3 separate regions of the Homo sapiens genome follow, and all the other regions are linked to region 2. The links are contacts of gene promoters, found by promoter capture Hi-C in human tissues and cell types (Jung and others, 2019). All regions are on one chromosome and are shown on one strand. The core of a region is centred on a gene start or on the middle of the fragment in contact, and the rest is flanking DNA. Distances in the headings are between cores, read along the strand shown. Region 1 has its middle 6.1 kb from the start of TBRG4. Region 2 holds the start of PPIA (peptidylprolyl isomerase A). Region 3 holds the start of NACAD (NAC alpha domain containing).

Region 1 (4,160 bases), core at 475-2,974, 320 kb after region 2:
CTCGTGATCCGCCCGCCTCGGCCTCCCAAAGTGCTGGGATTACAGGTGTGAGCCACCGTGCCTGGCCCCTAAGACCCTTTTAATCTAGATGTTCATCTGTATCCTTTAAAATATGCTTTGTAATAAACTAGTAAACATAGATGTTATGATCTGATTGTGTCCCTCCGAAATGTGTATGTTCAAGTCTAATCTGCAAAGTGTTGATATTAAGAGGTGGGGCCTTTGGGAGGTAATTAGGTCAAGAGGATGGAGCCCTCGTGAATGGAATTAGTGCCCTTATAAAAGAGGCCCGAGGGAGCATGTTTGTCCCTTTCTCCTTCTGCCATGTGAGGACACAGTAAGAAGTTACCTTCTATGAGGGAGAGAGCCCTTACCAGACACTGAAGCTGCTGGTGTCTTGATCTTGGACTTCCCAATCTCCAGAACTGTGAGCAATACATTTCTAGGGTTTATAAATTACTCAGTCTATGGTATTTTGTTCCAGCAGCCCAGATGGAATAAGGCAGTAGATAAAATGTTTCTCTGACTTCTGTGAGCTCTTATAGCAAATTACTAAACCTGAAGAGCAGGTCATGGGAAACCTTGCTTTGTAGCCAAGTCAAACAGAAGTGTGGATAGTCTGGGACCCACTACTTGTGACTGGCACCTGAAGTGAGGGCAGTGTTGTGGGACTGAGCCCTTAACCTGTGAGGTCTGTGCTAACTCTAAGTAGTTAGCGTCTGTTGTGGTTTGAATACTTGACCCCTCCAAAACACATGTTGAAACTTCTCCACTTGCCATGCTGGTTTTAGCATAGAAAGTCTCATGTCTTGGGAAGCTCCCCTACCCTTCCTCGCCTCAAGTCCCAGGCAAACTGGGATGCTTGACCACCCTGTTTCTGTCTGCTCCTGTCTATTCACCTTCCCTCCAGTTGGAATCAAACCACAGTTGATATGAGCTCTGGAGTGCAGAAGCTGATACAGCACCTGAGGCTGCCTTCTGACTGGCATCTGGAAACTTGGCTGGCAAACAGTTTCTTATACTGATAATAACTTCCTATAAAGGGCAGGGGTCTTCCCTGCACCTAAACTGTTTGTACAACAACATGGCTCATGCTAAGCACCTGCCTTTCTTCTGGGAGTTTGGAATTTTGGTGTATGCTAGGCAGACACCAGCTCCTGATAAAAACCCTGAGCACCAAGTCTCTATGAGCTTCCCTGGTAGACAGCATTGTACACGTGTCATCACAACTAATTGTTGAGGGAATCCAGTAGTGACTCCCTCTTGTTTCTGCTGGAAGAGAACTCTTGGAAGCTCATGCCTGGTTTCTTCCAACTTCACCTCATGTACCTTTCCCCTTTGCAGATTTTGCTCTGTATCCTTTTCTTTAAGTCTTAGCCAAGGGTATGACTGTGTACTGAGTCCTGTGAGTTCCTCTGGAGAGTCACAGAACCTTGGGGTGGTCTTGGGGACCCCTGACAAACCTGTTGAGGGACTTTCTCAGAGAAGGGCCCTTCTTCAGGGCCTGATGGAATCGATGTCTCTTCAGATTCCTGCATAAGAGGAGGAATCAGACCCAAAGGCTAGTCTAAGGTCAGCCTGGCTCCCTGCTCTGGCCATACACAGCCTGTTCTACCCTGCTATCTATGTGGCAAACTGAGGCCCAGGGAGGGCAGGACTTGCCTAAGGACACATGGAGAGTGAGTGTCCAGGTCTTCTGCCACCAGCCCCAGGCCTCCCCCTGCTTCTGTGCCTGCCCGGGGCTCTGTCCCAGCTGGACTCAGAGTGGTGGGTCTTTTGCACCCCCAGCAGGAAACCCTCAGCAGGGCCAACAGTCCTGACCTCTGCCAACCCTTCCAGAAATCCACAGAACATCTCATCCATCCTTCCTTCTCATCCACCAAGAAGGCCACAGCACCCTCCTCATGCAGTGTGGTGAGAGGTGTGGTACAGTGTGCAGAGTGGGTCGTGACAGCCACAGCCCAGTGGACCCAGCCCTGTCCTGCACCAGTAGGGCCCAGCTCATAGCCGTTCCTGGCTTTCAGTCAACCTGGGCTCCTGCTCTGGAGGCCACTGACATTGAGTACCTGTGCTAACAGATGTGCAGGTGAGAAGGCCTCTGGGGGTACGGGTGATGGAGCTGGGAAGGGGCCAAGGTGGTCCACCTTATCAGAGTCCTGGGAGCTCCGGTGGCAGCTGCCATGAGAATGCAGTGGGAGATGGTGGAGTGGCCCCATGGATCTCTCTGGCATGGATGCTCAGCCTCTAAAGGGGGCTGTTTTACCAGCTTGTAAAATCTACCCAAGTAGGGTACAGGCTGGGCTGTCTTGGGGGAAAAAACATTAAAACTTAAAGCAGTGTTTTATATGGAAAAATATGAAAGGGTTTTTTTTTTTTTTTTTTGAGACAGTCTCACTCTGTTGTCCAGGCTGGAATGCAGTGGTGCGATCTTGGCCCACTGCAACCTCCGCCTCCCAGGTTCAAGCGATTCTCCTGCCTCAGCCTCCCAAGTAGCTGGTATTACAGGTGTGTGCCACCATGTCCGGCTCATTTTTTGTATTTTTAGTGGAGACAAGGTTTCGCCATGTTGGCCAGGCTGGTCTTGAACTCCTGACCTCAGGTGATCCACCCGCCTTGGCGGCCTCCCAAAGTGTTGGGATTACAGGCGTGAACCACTGTGCCCGGCTGGGACTATTTTAAAATATCATGTATTAATAAAAAATTTGAGGTTCATGAAGACTGATGGATCAGGAGATGATTGCCATTGAGAAGCTAGTTTATTACTCTCAGTTCTGGAGAGAAGGGCACATGCCACACCACAGGGGCCACATGGGAAAACACTGGGGTTGGCCCTGAGGCAGAGGAATGGGGCAGGGAGTGGTGGGCAAGAGCCTTTACTGTGGTTTCTGTGGGAAAGAACAGGTAAGGCAGGGCGACAGTTTAGGATTGGGTGGTTTGAGTAACTTCAGGGCCTGGAGCAGAAGGGCTGTCCCTCATTGTCTGATACCTGGCCCTGGAGTGATTAGAGCAAGTCCATAGTGGCCAGAGTGTGAGAGCCCCATAGAGGAGGTGTTTGAGGGTGTGAGCATTGGATTGGTTGGTTTGTGTTTGAAAAGTGTACCCTGCCCAGGAGGAGGACTCTTCCTGAGAGGTGAGGAGCTGATGAGGGAGGCAGAAGGCCAAGGCAAGGTGATTCAGGCCCATCATCAGGGTGCAGAACCAAGTCTGTCCAGCATATACATACAAGGCAGATGTTAAAGCATTGTTTGCAGAAGCTGGAAACATAGTCAATACAGGGGCCAGGGCAGGGTGAAACTTCTCTGTAGGGGAGGAGCCTCCAGCATCAGGGGATGGATGTGTCTCCTGCAGCCTAACTCTGAGCTGCAGGCTAGACAAGGTTGGGTGGTTCCAGCTGCCCAGGCTGGCCTCAGGGTCCCAGCATGAGCAGCAGTGCATGGAGGTGGTACGGCTCCATTTCAGCCCTGCCTCTCCCCAGCACCTGACCAGCATGGGAGGCTGAGTGCTGGGCCTTGGTGGGCAGGGACAGACGGGGATGGGGAAAGGGTATGTCCGCTGGCCTCCAGCCTGCAGGACCTCCTGGTAGCTTCTCCTTGAGATGGGGAGGGGCAGGCCTGGTGCAGCAGTATGCAGGGGTCCTGGCCTGGGAGAGCAGGCTGCTGGCTTCCCACCAACACAGTGCATCATTGACAGGGCCTCCACGGGACCTGTTGACCCACCTTTCCCATACCTGTGTCTCAGGCTGCTGGGCCAGGTGCCACAAGGTGACCATGTTACCTGCTGGTCCTCCTTTCACATAGATCTGGCCTCCTTGTGGCGCCCCCTCAGCCCACCCAAGTCATTCCTCTGATGAGAGGTTCTCTTCTGTGCTACACTCCCACCTTGTGCTTTACCAAATTCAGGGCCTGCCCCTCTCCCACCAATCCTGGTCCCCAAACACTCCCTGGCCTGGAGGGCCAGCCCACAGGCCCTTTCTGGTTCCCCTCTTTTTATTTAGAGAATGTGCAAATTTTTTGAAAAGCTAAGAGCATGGTACGGTGACTATCCATAAATCTGTCATCTAGATTCAGCAAGAATTTGGCCATACTTCCGTCTTCCTTCTTTATCCCTACCCCTGCCTCACCCCCGCTTGTTCTCACTGTACATATGTGTGTATGTATTTG
Region 2 (3,725 bases), core at 610-3,109:
CCCCATCTTTACAAAACACACACACACAAAATGAGCTGGGTGTGGGTGCATGCCTGTAGTCCCAGCTACTTGGGAGGCTAAGGTGGGACGCTTGCTCGAGCACGGGAAGGGGAGGTTGCAGTGAGCCGATAACACACCACTGCACTTCCAGCCTAGGTGAGAGTGAGACCTTGTCTCAAAAAAACAAAAAGAAACATTAAATAATATCCTTAATATTGCAACTTAAGTGACAGCCCAGGATATATGAATTCCCTTGTAAGGTTTTCTTAACAAAACACCAGTCACATAAGTGCATTTTATTTTATATTTTTGTTTATTTATTTGAGACGGAGTCTCTGTCTCTCAGGCTGGAGTGCAGTGGCGCCATCTCTGCTCGCTGCAACCTCCACCTCCTGGGTTCCAGCGATTCTCCTGCCTCAGCCTCCCGAGGGGGTAGCTGGGACTACAGGTGCGCACCACCATGCCCAGCTAATTTTGTATTTTTCGTAGAGATGGGGTTTCACCATGTTGTCCAGGCTGGTCTTGAACTCCTGACCTCAGGTGATCCTCCCGCCTCGGCCTCCCAAAGTGCTGGAATTACAGGCGTGATCCACCGCACCCGGCCTATTTTTTGAGAGAGGGTCACACTCTGTCGTCCCGGCTGGAATGCAGTGATGCGATCACCGCCCACTACAGCCTCGACCTCCGGGCTCAAGCAATCCTCCCCGCCCAGCCTCCTGAGTAGCGAGCGCCTCGACGCCCAGCTAATTTTTATTTTTATTTATTTTTTTGTAGAGACGGCGTCTCTCTAAGATGCCCAGGCTGGTGGCCGGTGTCGAACTCCTAAGATGAAGCGATCCTCCCCGGCCTTGGCCTCCGCGCCTCCTAAAGCGCCAGGTATGAGCCACCGCGCCTGGCCTACAAGTGCATTTTAATTAAAGTATTATTAATGTCTTTGCCTGAAGAAATTCGCTTTTAAATTGTGACTTATCTTTCACCCAAAAATCAAAGCACAATTCAGCCCCGAGGCGGGGGCGGTAGGAGCTGGGCGGGGCGGGGGCAGGGAAAGACCAGGAGCAGAGATTCAAAAAGAGTAAGAGGGCAAAATGTGCATAATGCATCTTCACAGGTAAGAGCCTGGCCAGGCTCCTGTTTTAATGGCTTCCTCCTGAAGAAGATTCAAGCAGAGTGTAAGATATTTTCGGAAAGTAGAGCATTTTGAAAGCATTTCATAATCTCTCAAAACCGGAGACTGCTCCTGTCCCACCTCGTTAGAGAAAACAGCGATGCTCAAAGGCAACCTCCTTCCTGACATTGCCTGGTAGGACGCGACGTGGTGTTTGCCCGCGCGGAATGCGGACGCAAGGCTGCTCCTAGGTCTCGGGGACGCGCCATCCCCATTTCCGCTCGCGGAGGCGTAGGGTCCGGGCGCGGGACCCCAGTCGACCTTGACTGGCGGCGCGACCTTGAGGCCTGCGTTCGCCTCAGTTGCCCCCTCTGTGCAATGGGGAGACGCGCCTCATCGCTTGACAACGGCCGAAGAGCCGCCGCGCTTCCGTCTCCCGCGTGCGCGCGCCATGCTGCCCACCCCCGTTCCGCACTGACCCTCCCCCGTGCCCCGCGTCCCGTACTGCCGCCCCGCCCCGAGTCCCATGCCGCAGCCACCGCGACGGAGCCCGCAGGCGGGAACCTGCCTCCGCGCGTTAGCGCGCACGCGCGCCTCATGTGTCGTCCCCATCAGCGCCGGCTTCCGTCTATAGGCCAGATGCACTGTCACTCTGGCGAAGTCGCAGACCCGATTGGCCGGGACGGAGGCGCGAGACCGGGTTGCGGGCGGGGCCGAACGTGGTATAAAAGGGGCGGGAGGCCAGGCTCGTGCCGTTTTGCAGACGCCACCGCCGAGGAAAACCGTGTACTATTAGCCATGGTCAACCCCACCGTGTTCTTCGACATTGCCGTCGACGGCGAGCCCTTGGGCCGCGTCTCCTTTGAGGTCGGGCGGGCGGCGGCGTGCGGGAATGGGGCCCAGAAAGTGGGCCGGGGTCGGGGTGGGTGGTAGCGCCCCAAAGGCCCGGGCGCGGGGCGACCCTGCTTGAGGGGCGAGCGCGGGCGGGCTGCGGCGCCATTTCCTGACGAGGGGCCATTTTGGGAGGTCCGCGAGTCGCGGGGAGGAGGCCGGGACGGCGGCGGACAAAGGCAGGCGGGGCGGCTGCGAGGCCGTTGGGGGAGGGGGCCCGCGTCCGCCCGCCCGCCTCATGTGGCCGCGCCCTGTCCTGTCCGACGCACGTGCTCGGCGGCCGCGCTCAGGTCCGCGCCTTGAGAGTCGTTGGGCTCCGCCCTAGCTTGGCCTGGGCGCCGCAGACCGGAGCCAGAAGCACGCTCGCGGGGGCTTGCGACCGCCTTCCTGGGAAGCTGTCCCCTGGCAGGCATGGGTGCTTTACATCCTGAGCTGGGAAGCTGTTTGCTTGAGGGTTTTTCTCAAGGATCGAGGCGCGGTGTGAGCCCGTCCATGCTCGGTCCTGTAGATCCCGGGAGGCCATGTTATAAAAGGAGACTTGCTGGGATGTGACGGGTTGCCACTTGAAATATCTTCCATTTGGATAAAGTAGGAATATTTATACATGTGCCCCAAACGTCCCTCCGTGTCCCCCACCCCCAAGCGGAAATGTGAAAATGGGCCTTGCCTTTGCTGGTGCCCAAGGACCGCCTTCCACTGCAGTGACGGCGCTGGCGGGGGAGGCGCTCTTGAGCCCCTCCCGATTGTCCCTCTGCCTAGCAAGCAAGTTGCGACTGGCCACAAGGCAGGCCTCTTCCGACCAAGGTGGATTACCAGTGATTACCTAATTAGTTTTGAGAGCGTTAAATGAGTTCTTAAAGATCAGTTGTAATTATAGCATAGTATCTAAACTTGGCGCGTGTCTTCAAAGTTAAATATTGAGTACGATTCCGTTCCAGTTAACATGGATAGACCTTAGGGAGTAGCGAAATAGGATGTTAGTGGTTTTATTCCTTTAAATCACATCTCAAAAGGCCACCAATGGCTAGTTTGGGATCTTATTCCGAAAATAGATTGATCCTCATGCAGTCTTCGTGAGGACAGAGCGATTTCCTTGTTGCCTACCCTGTCCATAGTGCCTGGCACATAGGCACTGAAACACTGCATGTTAATCCACACCCCACCCCACCTATGAGTGTAGTCAAAGCTGGTAAGTGACAAGGGCTTTCGTGGAAACTTGGCCTGACCTAATGTTGGGCATCAGGTTACCCAAAGAGCTTCAGGGAAATGAGAAAGGACTTGCAGGTCTTGATGAGAATGGAGGGGTAACTGCCAATGAGGGCTTTGGCTTTAGCGAAAGTCTGAAAGGGAAGCCATAGGAACTTAAACGTACCGACTATAAAGCTCTGAGAAAAGCTGATGTTTTAGAAAGACCATACATTCTAGGTACAAATACCTAAAAACTAAAAAATAAGTACGTTGGCCAGGCGGGCGGATCACGAAGTCAGGAGATTGAGACCGTCCTGGCCAACATGGTGAAACCCCACCTCTATTAAAAATACAAAAATTAGCTGGGCGTGGTGGCGCTTGCCTGTAATCTCAGCTACTCTAGAGGCTGAGGCAGGAGAATCGCTTGAACCCCGGAGGCGGAGGCTGCAGTGAGCCGAGATCGTGCCACTGCACTCCAGCCTGGTGACAGTGAGACTCTTGTCTCAAAAAAAAAAAAGTACATTGCTATAAGAGAAGTGCA
Region 3 (4,005 bases), core at 1,114-3,613, 290 kb after region 2:
CATGCCTCGCTCTGCCTCCTCTCTCTGCTGTCCTTGCTACCTACACTTGAGGCCAACATGTCAGGGTTTCACCAGGCCCCTCTGACCCTGCTCCCCTCCTGCACCCAGGGAGATGGGGAAGCCAGGGGCCACCACACGCAGCCAAGTTTCTGGAGAACAGAGATGAAGTGTCCCGTGGAGGCTTTGCTGGAGCATCTGGCCACAAGGGCAGTGGTGGGCAGGAACGGAGACCATGGAGCCCAGCAAGAGCACAGGACAGCTTCAGAGGGCCAACAGCAGCCTCTGGCTGAGTCCTCTCCTTGGTGGCAGCCACCCCATGGGTGACCACCAGTTCCTTCCCGGGTGCTGGGAGTTCCCACCCTGCCCTGTGGGCCTTCTCTGGGTCCCATGATGCACTCCCCCAACCCGCTGGGCAGGCTTCAGTATGAGGAGGCTCTGGTACTCAGTAAACGTCTGTGAGCTAACACACCTCCAGCTGAGAAAGGAGTCCATAGGAAGTAGCCCTCATGGGTCAGAAAGGACTTAGGGGACTCAGGAAGATGGAAGAAAACCCCTCCGAGGTTGCGGCACACCAGACCGCTATGGTTTTCTGCCTCCTGGACTCTTACTGGCCTGTATTTTATCACAGGCGAGATCACATTGCACATTCAGTTTTGAATCTAGCTATTTTCACCCAACCTAATCTCATAAGCATTTTCCTGTGTGCTCTAAATGCTCATAAGCTTCATTTTAAATGTCTCCATTATGTCCACTCCCTCACTTGGACCTAGGCCAAAGGCACCTCTGTTTGAAGCATCCAATGAAGGCCCTTCAGAGCCCAGGCCAGGTCTTGCCCAAGGTGGGGGAGCGGCGGCACACAGGGGCCAGCTCTCCAGGCTGCAGATGCCTGCCTGGTGGCTCCTGCTCTCCCGCACTCACTGGTGACCAGGACAACATCTCTTGCACCTCAGCTTTCTCATCTACAAAGCAGAGCCAGGATTAGAGTTGAAGCTGAAAGAAGGGGGACCCTGTTGCCAGGCTGCTCCAGCTCCCCTCAGCAGCATCAGAGCCCTGAGCCCTGAACCACCAGCCAAAACTTGTCACCCAAGGGCTTTGCTGCTGGGGTGATGGGACATCCAGGGGGTCCTGAGACAAGGGGGTCCTTTGGGTTCTTGCATGCCTGACACCCAACATCAGGAGTGGGCGTGGCTGGTGGGGCATCACTGGGTGCCCTGAAGCTGGGCTCTTGGTTCTGGCCCCTGGTGTGGCCCCCAGGGCAGGGGAACGGCTGAGCTGTTGGGATGGAGCAGAAACCAAAGGCCAAAGGTTTTTATAACTCATTCAAGGTCACCAAGCAAGCCAGAACAGAGCCAGCACAAGACCCTGGGGCTGGGAAGTCTGGGCCTGCACTCCCTGCCTCCCACCTAGAGCAGAGGCAGCAGCCTGTGTCACCCCAAACCAGGCCCCAGGCCCCAGCAGTGGTCCCATCTCTGGGTGACTTCTTGCCCACAGCAAGGTGCCCTTGGCCCTACCCACACATGGCTGACCTCCACGCCAGGACTGTCCAGGCTCGGCTCTTTCTAGGCCCCGTAGACCCCATCAGCCTCCACCAGCATTTGTTGACCCAGCCTAAGGACAGGTGGTCTGCACACCCAGGGCCATTGCTAATCAGGCCACCTCCCCCAAGGCCTTCCACCTTCCAGACCCAACTTAGGCTTTATTCCACCACCTGGCCCTCCATCCGGGCTTCCTAGGCTCTGGCCAGTCCTGCTCCTCCCTCCAGAGCCATGACCAGTCGCCGGCCCAGGACAGACCGGGTGCAACTGAGGACCCTCCCGGTGGTCACCTGATCGTACTGGGGGTATCAGCCGGACACCCCGCCTCCAGAACCCGCTGCCTCTGTCCAGAGCGGCCCAGCCCCAGCAGGCTGGCAGCTCGGTGCAAACAACGGGATGCAGCGGGCGGGATGCGAGCCCCACGATCCCTGGGTCGGAAGCCAAGGGCTTAAGCCCCCACGTTCTTTCTGGCTCGCGGCGGGCACTTCGTGCGCCCCACCTTCCCCGCAGTTCTGAGAGAGGCGGTAGCAGGGTTCAGATGGAGGGAAGGACAGGGCGCGGAAAGGGGAGGGGACTCGAGGGGGGCCAGGGGGATGGGGGAGAGGGGTGAAAGGTGAGCGATGGAAAGAGAACCCGGGCTGGAGAGGGGAGAGGCTGAAGGCAGGGAAAGAGTGGCCACGGCCTCACCTGTGCGGGGCCCGGGTCGGTCCGCCTCGGGCAGCAGCAGCTCGGCGCGGGCAGCCTCCCCAGGCATGGCCTGGCCGTGCGCCCGCCCGTCCCTCAGTCCTTCCGACCCTCCGTCAGTCCGTGCCGCCGCCCCGCCGAGCCTGCGCGGCCACCGCCCCTCGGCCGGGCGGTGGGGGCAGTGGGTGACGTCAGGCCGCCCCGCCCGCCTGTCCCAGCGAGTGAGCGTGCGCGGGCTCGCCAGGCACTGCGGAGGGCGTAGGGGGGGCTCCCTCCCCGCCCCCACCCCACCCGGCTGTGGCCTCCCTCTCGCTGTGGGCGGTTTCGTGGGGGAGCGGGGGTGGGCGCCTGCGCCCGGTCCCACCCTTTCCACAGCATTTACGAGGGAGGGTTTCAGGGCCAATTGGAAGCTGGGTTGCCTCAGGGTGGCATTCGCCCGTGGCCAGGAAGAGGCGGGGACGCCCCTAGAACCCTGGTTGTGGGAGGCTGGGGAGGTGGTTGGGATTCTGGGATGCTCGGAGCGCTTTGGGTGGAGTTGGCGGCGCAGCCTCCTTCCCCGCTGACCAAGCAGAGGGTGCAGGGCCTGGGGAGGGAGGGGGCCCCGCCCAGCCCGATGCCTCCATGCAAAAGGTGAGCTGGAGCTGCAGCTCTGGAGTGATTGGCTGGTCCTGGCAGTCGTCGGTCTCCGTGGCAACCGCCTCCTGTCTCCATGGCAACCAGGGATGGAGCCGACGAGAGCGCACCAGGGAAGGCGACCCGGATGGGTCGGTCTCCAGGTCTCTAGGCAACTCGGTGATCTGTCCTATCATCTCCCCTCCACCCCCACACTAGGCAGTAGAAGGAAAAGGAAGAAAGTGTTTCCCTCTATTCCTGGCAGCACCCTCTGCCACACCTCCCAGGAGGAAGCCCGCCCCGTGAATTTCCTGAAATGCCTCTTGCTTTCACACAGGCTACTGCGCCACCCAGATTCACTGAGCACCCCTCCTCCCCCGTGCCAGGCACCAGGGAGACAGATGAATGAGACATTGTCATCACCCCTGACTGGGGTGGGGGGAATCAGAGTAGCCATTGTCACAGGCAGGGAGGGAGGTTTCAACATCCTCAGTCTTCTGTGGGTTCTAACTTTGAGCTCATGAAGCCAGGGGCTGCCCTCTGACTCCCCCAGACCTGCCTCAAGGCTCAGTGCTACACACCTGGCTGCCTGCTGGGCATCTCTCCCCGCTGTACCCCAGGAGTCAGACACACCACACCATTAGAATTAACATCAACTTCAAACAATCTCTTCCAGAAAACAAAAGAGAAGGGGACACTTCCTAACTCATTTTATAAGGCAAGAAATATCCTGATGTCAAAACTAACAATGTGTCGCCAGGCGCGGAGGCTCACGCCTGTAATCCCAGCACTTTGGGAGGCCGAGGCTGGCGGATCACGAGGTCAGGAGATCGAGGCCATTCTGGCTAACGTGGTGAAACCCCGTCTCTACTAAAAATACAGAAAATGAGCCGGGAGTGGTAGCGGGCTCCTGTAGTCCCAGCTACTCAGGAGGCTGAGGCAGGAGAATGGCGTTAACCCGGGAAGCGGAGGTTGCAGTGAGCCGAGATCGCACCACTGCACTCCAGCCTGGGCGACAGAGCGAGACTCCGTCTCAAAAAAAAAAAAAAAAAAAAAAAAACTAACAAAGTGTCAATACACCCCAAGACCCCCAAAACGAAAACTGCAGACCAGCATCTCTCATGAATTCAGGCACAAAAATTCTCAATATTGGCAAATCAAATATAATGATGTA

Evidence for each region. The method cuts DNA at HindIII sites, captures the fragments that hold promoters and counts their contacts. A contact is called where the count stands out against the background at its distance.
Region 1: a contact is called between a fragment that was not itself captured here and the fragment with the promoter of PPIA in region 2, in 1 of the 25 tissues and cell types used here (dorsolateral prefrontal cortex).
Region 3: the fragment with the promoter of NACAD here is called in contact with the fragment with the promoter of PPIA in region 2 in 2 of the 25 tissues and cell types used here (heart left ventricle and psoas muscle).

What each region holds. Positions count from the first base shown.
Region 1 is chr7:45,115,682-45,119,841 of GRCh38, forward strand. No RefSeq gene overlaps it. Among named protein-coding and RNA genes, the nearest start is that of TBRG4, 6.1 kb to the left of the region's middle. RefSeq lists a silencer at 3,297-3,396. The HindIII fragment of the contact is 8,492 bases long and covers 1-4,160 here.
Region 2 is chr7:44,794,822-44,798,546 of GRCh38, forward strand. It overlaps PPIA (peptidylprolyl isomerase A), which reads left to right and starts at 1,860. Exons shown (of 5, transcript NM_021130.5): 1 at 1,860-1,972. The coding sequence starts at 1,904. LOC105375259 (a long non-coding RNA gene) reads right to left here and starts at 1,709. Exons shown (of 2, transcript XR_007060300.1): 1 at 1,247-1,709; 2 at 295-603. RefSeq lists silencers at 1,401-1,600, 1,691-1,960, 1,981-2,330. The HindIII fragment of the contact is 11,905 bases long and covers 1-3,725 here.
Region 3 is chr7:45,086,606-45,090,610 of GRCh38, forward strand. It overlaps NACAD (NAC alpha domain containing), which reads right to left and starts at 2,364. Exons shown (of 8, transcript NM_001146334.2): 1 at 2,223-2,364. The coding sequence starts at 2,289. The HindIII fragment of the contact is 12,529 bases long and covers 1-4,005 here.